Regions from separate parts of the Homo sapiens genome. Here all the other regions are linked to region 1. The links are contacts of gene promoters, found by promoter capture Hi-C in human tissues and cell types (Jung and others, 2019). All regions are on one chromosome and are shown on one strand. Each heading gives the region's core, a stretch centred on a gene start or on the middle of the fragment in contact. The rest is flanking DNA. Distances are from core to core; before and after follow the strand shown. Region 1 holds the start of CTDP1 (CTD phosphatase subunit 1). Region 2 overlaps KCNG2 (potassium voltage-gated channel modifier subfamily G member 2). Region 3 overlaps KCNG2 (potassium voltage-gated channel modifier subfamily G member 2). Region 4 overlaps KCNG2 (potassium voltage-gated channel modifier subfamily G member 2). Region 5 has its middle 130 kb from the start of CTDP1-DT.

Region 1 (2,645 bases), core at 43-2,542:
GGGCGCCTTGAATTTGTGCTCAAGTGTGGCCCAAATAAACTCTCTACTTAGAGAAACTGTGTCTCCGCTCGTTTTCAGGCCGACAGTTTCCAAAATGTTAGTATTCAGCCTAACATGAGAAAAGTCACCATATAAAAGTGAGGGGGGAAAAGCAAATACAGGATAATCTCAATTGTATATAAAATTTATATACGTAAGGACAAAGATACATAGTAAAAAAAAAATTCTGGCAGGTATTAAGGCTGAAAAAATTAAAACAGTCCAGAGCGGTCTGGCTCAGGCCAGCCTGGGCCTGCCGAGTAGCTGGGACCTCAGCCACCGCGCCTGGCTAAGTATTAATGAATCTGTTTTAGAGATAGGGTCTTGCTACGTTGCGCAGGCTGGTCTCCAACTCCCAGGCTCAGGTGATCCGCCCGCCACAGCCTCCCGAAGTGCTGAGCCTCCCAAAGTGCTGAGACTACAGGCCTGGCCGCCCGCCCGCCAGCTTAATTCACGTAAATTCCAGACAAACGTAGAAAGTGGCTCCTTTAGTAAGCCACTTGCGGCTGCTGCTCATCAGGGTTCGCCTGGGGCCACTGAGACCACGCGCCGGTGCCCGCCCTCCCGCTGCGGTCCGATTTTCTGAACCAACCAGGCGCTTCCGGGCGCCTTGCCCCAGACGGGCCCACCGCCTGCGCGGGCCGAGGGCGGCGCACCTGCCCCTGCGCTTCCGCATCGAAGGTGAGGTCGGAGGAAGAGAAGACCGCAACCCCCAAGCTCCCGCGGCGTGGGGTCCGGGGGGGGACACGAGGCGGGGCCACCAGGACGCCGACAGCCTCACGTCTCTGGGCCCGCGGCGCGCAAGGCATGCCGGGACCCGTAGTCCCGCGACGTTGCGACTCACAGTGCGCGATGGGAGTGGAGGAGAGCGGCTCGCGGTGCATGCCGGAACTCGTAGTCTCGGGATGCTGGGTCTCAGCGCGTGATGGGGTAATGGCACGCAGGCCTGCGTTGAACGCTGGGACTCGTAGTCCCGCCATGCTCTGTCCGCGGTGCACGCCGGGATACGTAGTTCCGAGCGCGCCAAGACCGTCACTGGGACTGGGCGACAGCGGCCCGCGTTGCATGCCGCTGCTCCACGGTGCCGGCGCTCCGAGGAAAAGTAGGTAGGGCTCAGGAACGCAGTTCTTCACGGCCGGCACGCAGGGTTGGTCCCAGGACGGAGCCGGCTCCGGCCCCGCGCGGCGCTCGTATTTACACGCGCACGTACGCACGTACGCGGCGCCCTTGCGTGACGTCACGCGCCCTCCAGGAAGTCGGCGCGGGCTAGGCGACGGGTGGAAGCCGGTACCGAGAGGAACTACAGCGTCGCCGCCTGGGTTGTGTCGCCGCGGTAGGCGCTGCGCTCTGAGCGCAGCGCAGGCCCCGTACCGACCGCCCGCCCGCCCTCTGTCCGCGATGGAGGTGCCGGCCGCGGGTCGCGTTCCTGCCGAGGGCGCCCCGACGGCGGCTGTGGCCGAGGTGCGCTGCCCGGGGCCCGCGCCGCTGCGCCTGCTGGAGTGGAGGGTGGCGGCGGGCGCGGCCGTGCGCATCGGCTCGGTGCTGGCCGTGTTCGAGGCCGCCGCCTCCGCGCAGTCCTCCGGGGCCTCTCAGTCCCGTGTAGCCTCCGGGGGCTGCGTGCGCCCCGCGCGGCCGGAACGCAGGCTGAGGTCGGAGCGCGCGGGCGTGGTGCGGGAGCTGTGCGCGCAGCCGGGCCAGGTGGTCGCCCCAGGGTGAGTGTGCTGAGCCGGGCGGGGCCGAGGGCGGGCGGCTCCGGGGAGGGATCCTGGAGGACCCCCGGGCTGCTGCGTCCGCGGTGGGCAGGGGCGCCCCTGGTGAGGGAGCGATAAAGCGGGACGCAGGCACTGCGCTTCTCCCCTAAAACTGGATAGTCACCACCTGTGGTTTTACCAACGGGGAGCATTTTGAGATAAAAGGAAAGGGTCCTGCGTAGCGACACGAAGTTACTGTTTGGAAAAGCTATGTTTGTTTCTTTCTTTCTGCAGTGATAGTCCCCGCCCCTTCCTTTAGCTCCACCTTTGTGACTTAGGAAAACTCATGGGTGGCTGTGAGCACAAGAGTCATCAGGCAGGCTCCAGACCTGTTATTGAAATATAAACTGTTGGGTGTGTGCACATCTTTAAATTTTTGTAAACTTTGTGAAACGCAGTTGTAAAACCTGGTGCAGTTCTGTTTCGTGGCTAAGGAACGGGCGGAACCCAGGCCTGCAGCGAAGGCAGTAGCCCCGTGGTTGACCACAGTGGGCATTGTCGCAGGCTGCTTCAGGGTGACGTGGGCGTTGTGACAGACTCCACAGCTCTCAGTAGCTGTGCTCTGACCCCAGAAGGGGATATGTTTCCGTAGCACCGAAGTGTCCAGCCATGTTTGAATCTACCCTTGTGTTCTGGGATGGGCGGGCAAGTGGACACGCGTGTGCGCCTGGCTCTGGTAGTTTTGATTGTGAGAACAGAAACTCCAGGGAGAGGTGGACACTCCAGCCCGCAGTGGGCCGGGCGTGAGCTCCCTCTGGGAAAGGTGCCGCTCCTTCTGGGGATGCCACTCTCTTCCCTCCTCGGCAGCCGCGGCTCCTCGTCCCTTTGGCTTGCCCTGACCCTGTGTTTGTTGAG
Region 2 (2,645 bases), core at 40-2,539, 180 kb after region 1:
TTACATTAAGGTCTTTGATCTAGTTTGAATTAGTTTTTATATATAGTGTGATGTAGGCATCTTGGTCCATTCAGTGTTGCTATAAAGGAATACCTGGAGCCAGGTAATTCATTTTAAAAAGAAGCTTGTGATGTCATCATGATTCTGATGTCTGGAAAAGTTCAAGATCAGGCATCTGCATCTGAGGAAGGCCACAGGCAGCTCCAGTCATGGCAGAAGATGGCGTGGAGCTGGTGTGTGCAGAGACCACACGGAGATGGAGGAAGCAAGGGCTAGGGGTGCCAGGCGGGTTCAACAGCCAACTCTGGAGTGAACTCATAGAGCGAGAACTCACTCATTACCATGAAGACACCTCCCAGCCATGCATGAGGGATCAGCCCCCATGACCCAAACCCCTCCCATTAGGCCCCACCTCCGACACTGGGTATCAAATTCCAATATAAGATTTGGAGGCCAATATCCAAACGATAGCAGGGTCCAACTTTATTTTTTTACATGTGGATAACCGTTTGTTGGAGACACTATTACTTCTCCATTGAATAGTCTTGACGACCTTGTCAAAAGTGAACTGACGGTAGATTTATGGGTTCATTTCTGGACTTTCAATTCTGCTCCATTGATTTTTATGTCTCTCTTTACACTAGTACTACACTCTTGATTGCTGTAGCTTTATACTCACTTTGAGTAAGTAGTAATGTACTAGTCCATGTTCGCATTCCTATAAAGGAATACCTGAGACTGGGTAATTTATAAAGAAAAGAGGTTTAATTCGCTCATGGTTCTTCAGGCTGTAAAGGAGGCACGGTGCCAATGTCTGCTAAGCTTCTGGGGAGGCTTTGGGAAGCTTCCAGTTATGGCAGAAAGCAAAGGGGGAGCAGGCACGTTACATGGTGAAAGCAAGAACAAGGTTGCGGGGTAGGTACCACACACTTTTAAACGAACAGATCTCATTTCGACACAAGATTTAGGTGGAGGCATGTAATAAAATGATATCAAGTAAGTTTGAGCCCTCCAACTTTGTCCTTTGTCAAGTTTGTTTTGGCTACCTTGCATTTCCAATAGAATTTTCAACTTGTCAATAGAATGTTCAACTTGTCAATGTCTTCAAAAAAGTTACTGGGATTTTCATATGGATTGGATTGACTCTGTTGATCAATTTAGGGAAGATTGCCATCTTAACAATATTAAGTCTTCCAATACATGAGCATGGAATGTCTTTTCATTTATTTAGTCTTAAAATTTCTTCCACCAATGTTTGTAGTTTTCAGTTTTCAGTGTAGGTTTCAGTTTCCACTCCTTGGTTAAATTTATTTCTAAGTATTTTATTCTTTCTGATGCTCTTATAAATGGAATTTTTTTAACTTCCTTTTCCGATTATTCATTGCTTTTGTATAGAAATACAACTGATTTTTTTTACCGATCTCATGTCTTGCAACTTTGCTGAACCCATTCTCATAGTGATGTGTGTGTGTGTGTGTGCGCATGTGTATGTGTATGTGTGCGTGTGTGTTCTTTAAGGTTTTCTGTACATAAGATCATAAGATCAAGTCATCTCAAAATATAGTTTTACTTTTTTCTTTTGAGTGTGGATGCCTTTTATTTCTTTCTCTTGCCTAATTTTTCTGACTATAATTTCCAGTTCAATGTTAAGTAGAACTGATGAGAGCAGGTATTTCAGTCTTGTTCCTGGTCTTAGGGGAAAGAATCCAGTCTTTCACCGTTGACTATGGAGTTAGCGGTGAGTTTTTCCTACGTGGACCTTGTCATGTGGAGGAAGTTCTCTTTTAGACCTAGTTATTGATTGAGTTTTTTGTTTAATCAGGAAAGGATGTTAGACTTCGTCAAATCCTTTTTCTGCCTCTATTGAAATTATCGCATGATTTTTCCCTTCATCCTATAAATGAGCGTATTATAGTAATTTTGTGTATTGTGCCACCCGTGTATTCCTGTGATAAATCTCTATGGTAAACGATCAAATGGTCATCATGTATAATCCTTTTAATATGAAGCTGGATTTATTTTGCTCATGTCTTGTGGAGGATTTTTGCCTCTGTTTTCTTCTCTCTCTCTCTTTTTTTTTTTTTTTTTTTTTTGAGATGGAGTTCTCACTCTGTTACCCAGGCTGGACTGCAGTGGCGCGATCTCGGCTCACTGAAACCTCCGTTCCCAGGTTCAGGCAATTCTCCCTGCCTCAGCCTCCCGAGTAGCTGGGATTACGGGCACCTGCCACCACACCCCGCTAATTTTTGTATTTTTAGTAGAGACAGGTTTTTGCCATGTTGGCCAGGATGGTCTCAAACTCCTGACCTCAGAGGATCCACCTGCCTCGGCCTCCCAAAGTGCTGGGATTACAGGCATGAGCCACTGTGCCGGGTCTTTGTCTTTAGACAGTTTGTGGTGTGTCAGTGTGGATGTCTTTGAATTTATCTTACTTGGAGTTTGTTGAGTTTCTTAGATGTGTAGATTAATGTTTTTCATCGAATTTGGAGGGTTTTTAAACCATATTTCTTCAAATATTCTTTCTTCCCTGTTCCCTCTTTCCTTTCAGGACTCTCACTATGCAAAAGCTGGTACATGTGATGGTCCCACAGGTCTCTTAGGCTCTGTTCCGTTTTCTTCACTTGTTTTCTTTCTGCTCCTCAGAT
Region 3 (2,645 bases), core at 76-2,575, 160 kb after region 1:
ATCTTCCTGTCTTCTTCTGAGCCCTCCAAACTCTTCCAACCTCTGCCCTTTACCCAGTTCCAAAGTTGTGTCCACATTTTCAAGTATCTTTGTAGCAGTGCCCCACTCCAGGTACCAATTTTCTGTATTAGTCCATTTTCACGCCTATACAGAACTACCTGAGACTGGGTAATTTATGAAGAAAAAAGGTTTAATTGACCCACAATTCCACATGGCTGGGGAGGCCTCAGGAAACTTACAGTCATGGCAGAAGGTGAAGGAGAAGCAAGACCTTCTTCACATGGTGGCAGGAGAAAGCGAGAGTGAGTGAAGGGAAAGTGCCTCACTTTTAAACCATCAAATCTCAGGAGAACTTGCTATCACAAGAACAGCAGGGGGGAACTGGCCCATAATCCAGTCACCTCCCACCAGGTCCCTCCCTTGACATGTGGTGATTACAAATCAAGATGAGATTTAGGTGGGGACACAGAGCCAAACCATATCAAAAGTATACCATAAAACAAATCTCAACAAATTTAAAAGAACTGAAATCATATAAGTGTTCTCAGTGTGGTTCTCTGAGCATAATGGAATAAAACTGGAAATCAATAATAGAATAATCTTCAAACACTGGAAATTTAAATCATACTTCTAAATAATCCTTGGGCCAAACAAGTCTTTTTTTTTTTTTTTCCTGAGACAATGTCTCTCTGTCGCCCAGGCTGACTGCAGTGATGCAATCATGGCTCATTGCAGCCTCGACCTCCTGGGCTCCAGCAGTCCTTCAACCTCAGCCTCCTGAGTAGCTGGGACCAAAGGTGTGCACCACCATGCCCAGCTAATTTTTAAATTTTTTGTAGAGATGGGGTCTCCCTGTGTTGCCCAGTCTGATCTTGAATTCCTGGGCTCAAGTGATCCTCCCACCTCAGCCTCTCAAAGTGTTGGGATTACAGGCATGAGCCACCTCACCTGGCCCAAAGAGGAAGTCTTAAGGGAAATCAAAACATACATTGAACAGAATGAAAATATATACACAACATATCAAAATTTGTGAGACCAAGCTATACAGTGTCAAGAGGGAAATTACATTAGAAAAAAGGAAAAACCTCAATGTACAATCTCAGGTCCCACCTGCAGTACCTAGAAGAGGAAGAGCAAAGCAAGTAGAAGGAATGAAATAATGAAGAGCAGAAGTCAATGGCGCTTAGCCCAGTAGAACAATAGGGAAAAGCAGTGAAACAAAGAGCCGACTCTTTGAAAGGATCAATAGAATAAACTTGGCCAGATGCAGTGGCTCACACCTGTAACCCCAGCACTTTGAGAGGCCAAGTCAGGAGGATCATTTGAGTCAGGAATCCAACACCAGCCTGGACAAGACCCCACCTCTACAAAAATATAAATTTAAAAATAAATTAGCAGAATATGTGGGCGCATGCCTGTCATCCCAGCTACTTGGGAGGCTGAAGGGAGAGGATCACTTGAGCCCAGGTCAAGGCTGCAGTGAGCCATGATCATGCCACTGCACTCCAGCCTGGACAACAGTGCAAGACCCTGACTCTAAATGCATAAATAAATAAATAATTCCTGGCAAGCCCAACAAAATTAAGAAGAGAGAAGACACACGTTACCAACGTCAGGAACAAAATAGAGGACATAACTGCATACCCTGTAGACATCAGAAGTGTGAGAAGGGAACCCTGCCAACAACTCTACATGCACATTTGACAGCCCAGATCTACTGGACCGATTCCTTGGAAAATACACACTACCACAATTCACCCAGTGTGAAATAGATCATGAGAATAGTCCTATAACTGTTAATAAACTTGAATTTGTAAATTAAAAATTCCTGAAAAAGCAATCTCCAAGCCCAGATGATTTCACTGGAGAACATCTAAACAACTAAACCTCTGAGTAAACATCTAAGGAAGAATTAACACCAATCTATACTGTCTTTTCCAAAAAATGGAAGAGGAGGGAACATTTTCTAAAACCTTATTAAATATTAGCAAATAGAAATCAGCAATACGTAAAAGGAATTATACACCATGGCCAAGTGGAGAGTTTATTCCAGGGATGCAAAGATGATTCAGTATTTAAATTCAATCAGTGTAAGCACCATATTGACAGGCTAAAGAAAAATCACATAATCATATAAGTTGATGCAAAAAACTTTTTAAATAACACCTCTTTTGATAAAAATTCTCAGAATATAGGAATCAAGGGGAAGTTTCTTGACTTGATAAAGAGTATCTACAAAAACCTTAGCTGACATACACTTAATGGTGAAAGACTGAATGTTCTTCCCCTCAGATGGAGAACAAGGCAAAAATGCTCACTTTCATCACTCTTATTCAACATATAACTGAAAGCTCTGGTCACTGCAGTGGGTAATAAAATGAAATAAAATGTATATAAGTTATAAAGGAAGAAATAAGACTGCCCCATTTGCAAATTACATGATTGTATACACAGAAAATCCCAAGAAATCTACAAAAAGCCAAAAAAAACTCTTAGAACTAATAAATGAATTCAGCAAGATTGCAAGACATAAGATAAACATACAAAATCAATACACTAGCAAGACACATGGATATCAAAATTAAACATAGAATATAATACCCTTTACAATTGTTCAACAAAATGAAATACTTAGGTATGAGTCT
Region 4 (2,645 bases), core at 81-2,580, 140 kb after region 1:
CTGGAGTGCAGAGGTGCAATCAGCCTCAACCTCCTAGGCTCAAGCAATCCTCCCACCTCAGCCCCTGGAGCAGCTGGGACTCCAGGCATGCACCACCACACCCAGCTAATTTTTGTATTTTTTGTAGAGAGAGGGTCTCGCTATGTTGCCAGGCTGATCTCAAACTCTTGGACTCAAGTGATCCTCCCACCTCAGCCTCCCAACGTGCTGGGATTACAGGTGTGAGCCACCATGCCTAGCCCCTTTGCCCATTTTTAGATTTGGTTGTTTGTCTTTAGTTACTGAGTTAGAGAAACTCATTATATGTTCTTGATATTAAGCCCTTATCAGATATGTGATTTGCAAATATTTTCCCCCAGTCTGTGGGCTTTCATTTTGTTGATAGTGTCCTCGGATGCACAGAAGTTTTTAATTTGAATGAAGCTCAGTTGATCTATTTTTATTTTGTTGCCTGTGCTTTTGATGTCATTTAAGCAACCATTGCCAAATCCAACATCATGAAGATTTGACCACATGTTTTATTCTAAGAGTTTTATAGTTTTATCTGTAAATTTTGGCCGTCAACCCATTTTTACTTGAATTTTTTTTTTTTTTTTTTTTTTGACAGAGCCTGGCTCTTGTCACCCAGGCTGGAGCACAGTGGCGCAATCTTGGCTCACGGCAACATCTGCCTCCCAGGTTCAAATGATTCTCCTGCCTCAGCCTCCCAAGTAGCTGGGATTACAGGCACCCACCACCACACCCAGCTAATTTATGTATTTTTAGTAGAGACGGGGTTTCACCATGTTGGCCAGGCTGGTCTCAAACTCCTGACCTCAGGTTGTCCACCCGCCTCGGCCTCCCAAAGTGCTGGGATTACAGGCGTGAGCCACCACGCCTGGCCTTTTACTTGAATTGTGTATATGGGGTGGGGTAGGGCTCAGCTGCACCCTTTTGTGTGAGCACATCCCCATCTTCCTGGTGCCATTTACTAGGAAGGGCCTCCTTCCTGAATTAAATGGTCCTGGCACTCTTTTCCCAAAATCACTTGATCATAGGTGTAGGGCTCATCTCTGGGCGTCCTGCTCCGCCCTCAACTGCCCTGTCTGTCCACAGGCCAGGCCATGCATCTTGATCGCCATAGCTTGGCAGCACCTTTGAGATTGGAAGTGTGAGGCCTCTATCATTGCCCTTCTTTTTCAAAATTGTATTGACTATTCGTGGTCCGTTAAGACTCCATATGAATTTTAGGACGGGCTTTTTCATTTCTGCAAAAAAGCACTGTTTTTTGTAGGCCATTCTAGAAGTGGGCTGAGTGAATGTGCCAGATGGGTTTGTTGTGAGGAAATCCCAGCACTGATATTTGGGGCTGGGATGTGAAGGCTTCAGTAAAACTTGTCAAATTCAGACTCAAGGTGCCTTTTGTACCATTGTCCTGGGGTTTAAGCAGGAAATGTTAGATTTTTAAAAGCTTTTTATTTGAACGATTTTTAGACTTATAGGAAAGTTGCAGATTCATAGAGGTTCCCATGTCTCCCACCCAGCTTCCTCCAGTGTTGGCAGAATGGTCCAGACCAGGGATTCCCACTGGCCCCGCCCTGGTCACTACTTTAAAACCCCACTCAGATGTCACCGCGTTCTTCATACTAGAGCCACGGTTCTGTCCAGGGCCCCTCACCATCGTTCCCATCATCCGTCTGTAATAGCTCTCCAGTTTGTTTTTCGTTTTTGTTTTTCACAATATTGATACTTTTTAAAGTTATTATTTTTTTGAGACAGGGTCTCACTCTGTCCCCCAGGCTGGAGTGTAGTGTTGCAGTCATGGCTCCCTGCAGCCTCAGCCTCCAGGGCTCAAGCATCCTCCCACGTCAGCCTCCCGAGTAGCTGGGGCCACAGGCGTGAGCCACCATGCCTGGCTAATTTTTGTAGAGATGGGGGTCTCGCTGTGTTGCCCCGGCAGGTCTTGAACTCCTGACCTCAAGGGATCCACCCACCCCGGCCTCCAAAGTGCTGAGATCACAGGTGTGAGCACCGTGCTGGGCCTTCAAACGTGTGCTGTGCTCACCCCGAGAGACTGGAGCCTGCTGCGTGTGGCTCTTCTAGTCTTTAGCCTCCGGATTTCATGGAAACACATTTTCCACAATTACCTGGGAGAGCCCTTGTCTCCCCACGCTTCCGTGGGGTTGTGGATTCCTTGTGAGGCACCTGGGCTTATCGTGGGCGTTGGTGTTGCGTGTGGGTGTGGCTCACTTGTGGCATGTGAAGAGCGTGTGGAGCACCCCAAGGCTTTAGGAGTCACTGCCTCTGGAAGGCCCTTCCCACCTCCCTCCATGGGGAGACAGCCTTAGTTTCTGTTCATCCTCCTCTGTTCCTCCTGCACAGCCAGGCAGGCACCTGTGCATTTCAGCTGGCCCCTGTCTTACACCATGGGTGGCAAATCTCTGCCTTTCTTCTCACTTTGCCTTCTCACTTAATGTCCTGGAAGTCATCTCGTGGCAGGCCTTACAGACCTTCCTCCTTCCGGCACGTGCCCCACCGTGTAGACACCCGCGTTTACTCAGCGACCTTGCTCTGTGCGGGCACTGGGCTGTTTCCAGGGTTTTGCCATCTCCACCTGTGCTGCTGTGAACACCACATGTGGACCTTTTCATCTCTGCAGGGTTGAC
Region 5 (2,645 bases), core at 79-2,578, 130 kb before region 1:
CTCTCGGGCCCGGCCAGGCTCTGGGTCCCGGGCTGTGGTGTCCTCCAGACCCAAGGCATCCGAGGTGCCCACTGCATGCGGGGTTTATTACGTGTTGCCAGGGGCGCTGGTTATTTTATTTTGCTTCTGGTTTTGCTCTGCCAGCCGCTTGTCTCCTGAATTCTCTGACTTTTTCTCAGCACCTCTGCTGGGACCTGCCCAGGAGCTCGGGCAGATGGGTTCCGCCAGCGGCGCCAACTCCCACGGCTCGCGGGGATGGGGAGTTGGGGGCTCTGAACCCGTGTGTGTGGAGCAGAAGGAGTGTCACCTCATCCCCCGGGGGCCCTTCACATCCCAGGCCCCACTGGACTGTGACGGGCAGTGGGAAGGGAGGACGTGTGTGGGGCCGAGAGGGAGCTCCCAGGAGACCCCGTCGTTGTCCTGGGGTGGCCGAGACAAAGCCTCACAGACCCCCAGACAGGGCCGTGCGGACGGCGGGAAGGCAGGTGACAAAGCCTCATAGACCGACAGGGCCGTGTGGACGGCGGGAAGGCAGGTGACAAAGCCTCACAGACCCACAGACAGGGCGGTGCGGATGGCGGGAAGGCAGGTGACAAAGCCTCACAGACCCACAGACAGGGTGGTGCGGATGGCGGGAAGGCAGGTGACAAAGCCTCATAGACCGACAGGGCGGTGCGGATGGCAGGAAGGCAGGTGACAAAGCCTCACAGACCCACAGACAGGGCGGTGCGGATGGCGGGAAGGCAGGTGACAAAGCCTCATAGACCGACAGGGCGGTGCGGATGGCAGGAAGGCAGGTGACAAAGCCTCACAGACCCACAGACAGGGCGGTGCGGACGGCGGGAAGGCAGGTGACAAAGCCTCACAGACCCACAGACAGGGCGGTGCGGACGGCGGGAAGGCAGGTGACAAAGCCTCACAGACCCACAGACAGGGCGGTGCGGACGGCGGGAAGGCAGGTGACAAAGCCTCACAGACCCACAGACAGGGCGGTGCGGACGGCGGGAAGGCAGGTGACAAAGCCTCACAGACCCACAGACAGGGCGGTGCGGACGGCGGGAAGGCAGGTGACAAAGCCTCACAGACCCACAGACAGGGCGGTGCGGACGGCGGGAAGGCAGGTGACAAAGCCTCACAGACCCACAGACAGGGCGGTGCGGACGGCGGGAAGGCAGGTGACAAAGCCTCACAGACCCACAGACAGGGCGGTGCGGACGGCGGGAAGGCAGGTGACAAAGCCTCACAGACCCACAGACAGGGCGGTGCGGACGGCGGGAAGGCAGGTGACAAAGCCTCACAGACCCACAGACAGGGCGGTGCGGACGGCGGGAAGGCAGGTGACAAAGCCTCACAGACCCACAGACAGGGCGGTGCGGACGGCGGGAAGGCAGGTGACAAAGCCTCACAGACCCACAGACAGGGCGGTGCGGATGGCGGGAAGGCAGGTGACAAAGCCTCACAGACCCACAGACAGGGTGGTGCGGACGGCGGGAAGGCAGGTGACAAAGCCTCATAGACCGACAGGGCGGTGCGGATGGCAGGAAGGCAGGTGACAAAGCCTCACAGACCCACAGACAGGGCGGTGCGGACGGCGGGAAGGCAGGTGACAAAGCCTCACAGACCCACAGACAGGGCGGTGCGGACGGCGGGAAGGCAGGTGACAAAGCCTCACAGACCCACAGACAGGGCGGTGCGGACGGCGGGAAGGCAGGTGACAAAGCCTCATAGACCGACAGGGCGGTGCGGACGGCAGGAAGGCAGGTGACAAAGCCTCACAGACCCACAGACAGGGCGGTGCGGACGGCGGGAAGGCAGGTGACAAAGCCTCACAGACCCACAGACAGGGCGGTGCGGACGGCGGGAAGGCAGGCGACAAAGCCTCACAGACCCACAGACAGGGCGGTGCGGACGGCGGGAAGGCAGGCGACAAAGCCTCACAGACCCACAGACAGGGCCGTGCGGACGGCGGGAAGGCAGGCGACAAAGCCTCACAGACCCACAGACAGGGCGGTGCGGACGGCGGGAAGGCAGGCGACAAAGCCTCACAGACCCACAGACAGGGCGATGCGGACGGCGGGAAGGCAGGCGACAAAGCCTCACAGACCCACAGACAGGGCGGTGCGGACGGCGGGAAGGCAGGCGACAAAGCCTCACAGACCCACAGACAGGGCGGTGCGGACGGCGGGAAGGCAGGCGACAAAGCCTCACAGACCCACAGACAGGGCGATGCGGACGGCGGGAAGGCAGGCGACAAAGCCTCACAGACCCACAGACAGGGCGATGCGGACGGCGGGAAGGCAGGCGACAAAGCCTCACAGACCCACAGACAGGGCGGTGCGGACGGCGGGAAGGCAGGCGACAAAGCCTCACAGACCCACAGACAGGGCCGTGCGGACGGCGGGAAGGCAGGCGACAAAGCCTCACAGACCCACAGACAGGGCCGTGCGGACGGCGGGAAGGCAGGTGACAAAGCCTCACAGACCCACAGACAGGGCGGTGCGGACGGCGGGAAGGCAGGTGACAAAGCCTCACAGACCCACAGACAGGGCGATGCGGACGGCGGGAAGGCAGGCGACAAAGCCTCACAGACCCACAGACAGGGCGGTGCGGACGGCGGGAAGGCAGGCATCCTCCCTCCCCTGAGG

Evidence for each region. The method cuts DNA at HindIII sites, captures the fragments that hold promoters and counts their contacts. A contact is called where the count stands out against the background at its distance.
Region 2: a fragment that was not itself captured here is called in contact with the fragment with the promoter of CTDP1 in region 1 in 5 of the 25 tissues and cell types used here (IMR-90 fibroblasts, dorsolateral prefrontal cortex, lymphoblastoid cells and 2 more).
Region 3: a fragment that was not itself captured here is called in contact with the fragment with the promoter of CTDP1 in region 1 in 2 of the 25 tissues and cell types used here (mesendoderm cells and spleen).
Region 4: a fragment that was not itself captured here is called in contact with the fragment with the promoter of CTDP1 in region 1 in 1 of the 25 tissues and cell types used here (spleen).
Region 5: a fragment that was not itself captured here is called in contact with the fragment with the promoter of CTDP1 in region 1 in 2 of the 25 tissues and cell types used here (spleen and thymus).

The regions. Positions count from the first base shown.
Region 1 is chr18:79,678,511-79,681,155 of GRCh38, forward strand. It overlaps CTDP1 (CTD phosphatase subunit 1), which reads left to right and starts at 1,293. Exons shown (of 13, transcript NM_004715.5): 1 at 1,293-1,751. The coding sequence starts at 1,438. CTDP1-DT (CTDP1 divergent transcript) reads right to left here and starts at 1,235. Exons shown (of 5, transcript NR_136643.1): 1 at 884-1,235. RefSeq lists enhancers at 418-925, 926-1,434. The HindIII fragment of the contact is 29,025 bases long and covers 1-2,645 here.
Region 2 is chr18:79,859,203-79,861,847 of GRCh38, forward strand. The region is part of intron 2 of KCNG2 (potassium voltage-gated channel modifier subfamily G member 2); the gene reads left to right. Among named protein-coding and RNA genes, the nearest start is that of KCNG2, 63 kb to the left of the region's middle. The HindIII fragment of the contact is 4,051 bases long and covers 1-2,645 here.
Region 3 is chr18:79,837,757-79,840,401 of GRCh38, forward strand. All of the region lies in intron 1 of KCNG2 (potassium voltage-gated channel modifier subfamily G member 2), which reads left to right. Among named protein-coding and RNA genes, the nearest start is that of KCNG2, 41 kb to the left of the region's middle. The HindIII fragment of the contact is 8,072 bases long and covers 1-2,645 here.
Region 4 is chr18:79,820,707-79,823,351 of GRCh38, forward strand. All of the region lies in intron 1 of KCNG2 (potassium voltage-gated channel modifier subfamily G member 2), which reads left to right. Among named protein-coding and RNA genes, the nearest start is that of KCNG2, 24 kb to the left of the region's middle. The HindIII fragment of the contact is 3,710 bases long and covers 1-2,645 here.
Region 5 is chr18:79,549,489-79,552,133 of GRCh38, forward strand. No RefSeq gene overlaps it. Among named protein-coding and RNA genes, the nearest start is that of CTDP1-DT, 130 kb to the right of the region's middle. The HindIII fragment of the contact is 8,578 bases long and covers 1-2,645 here.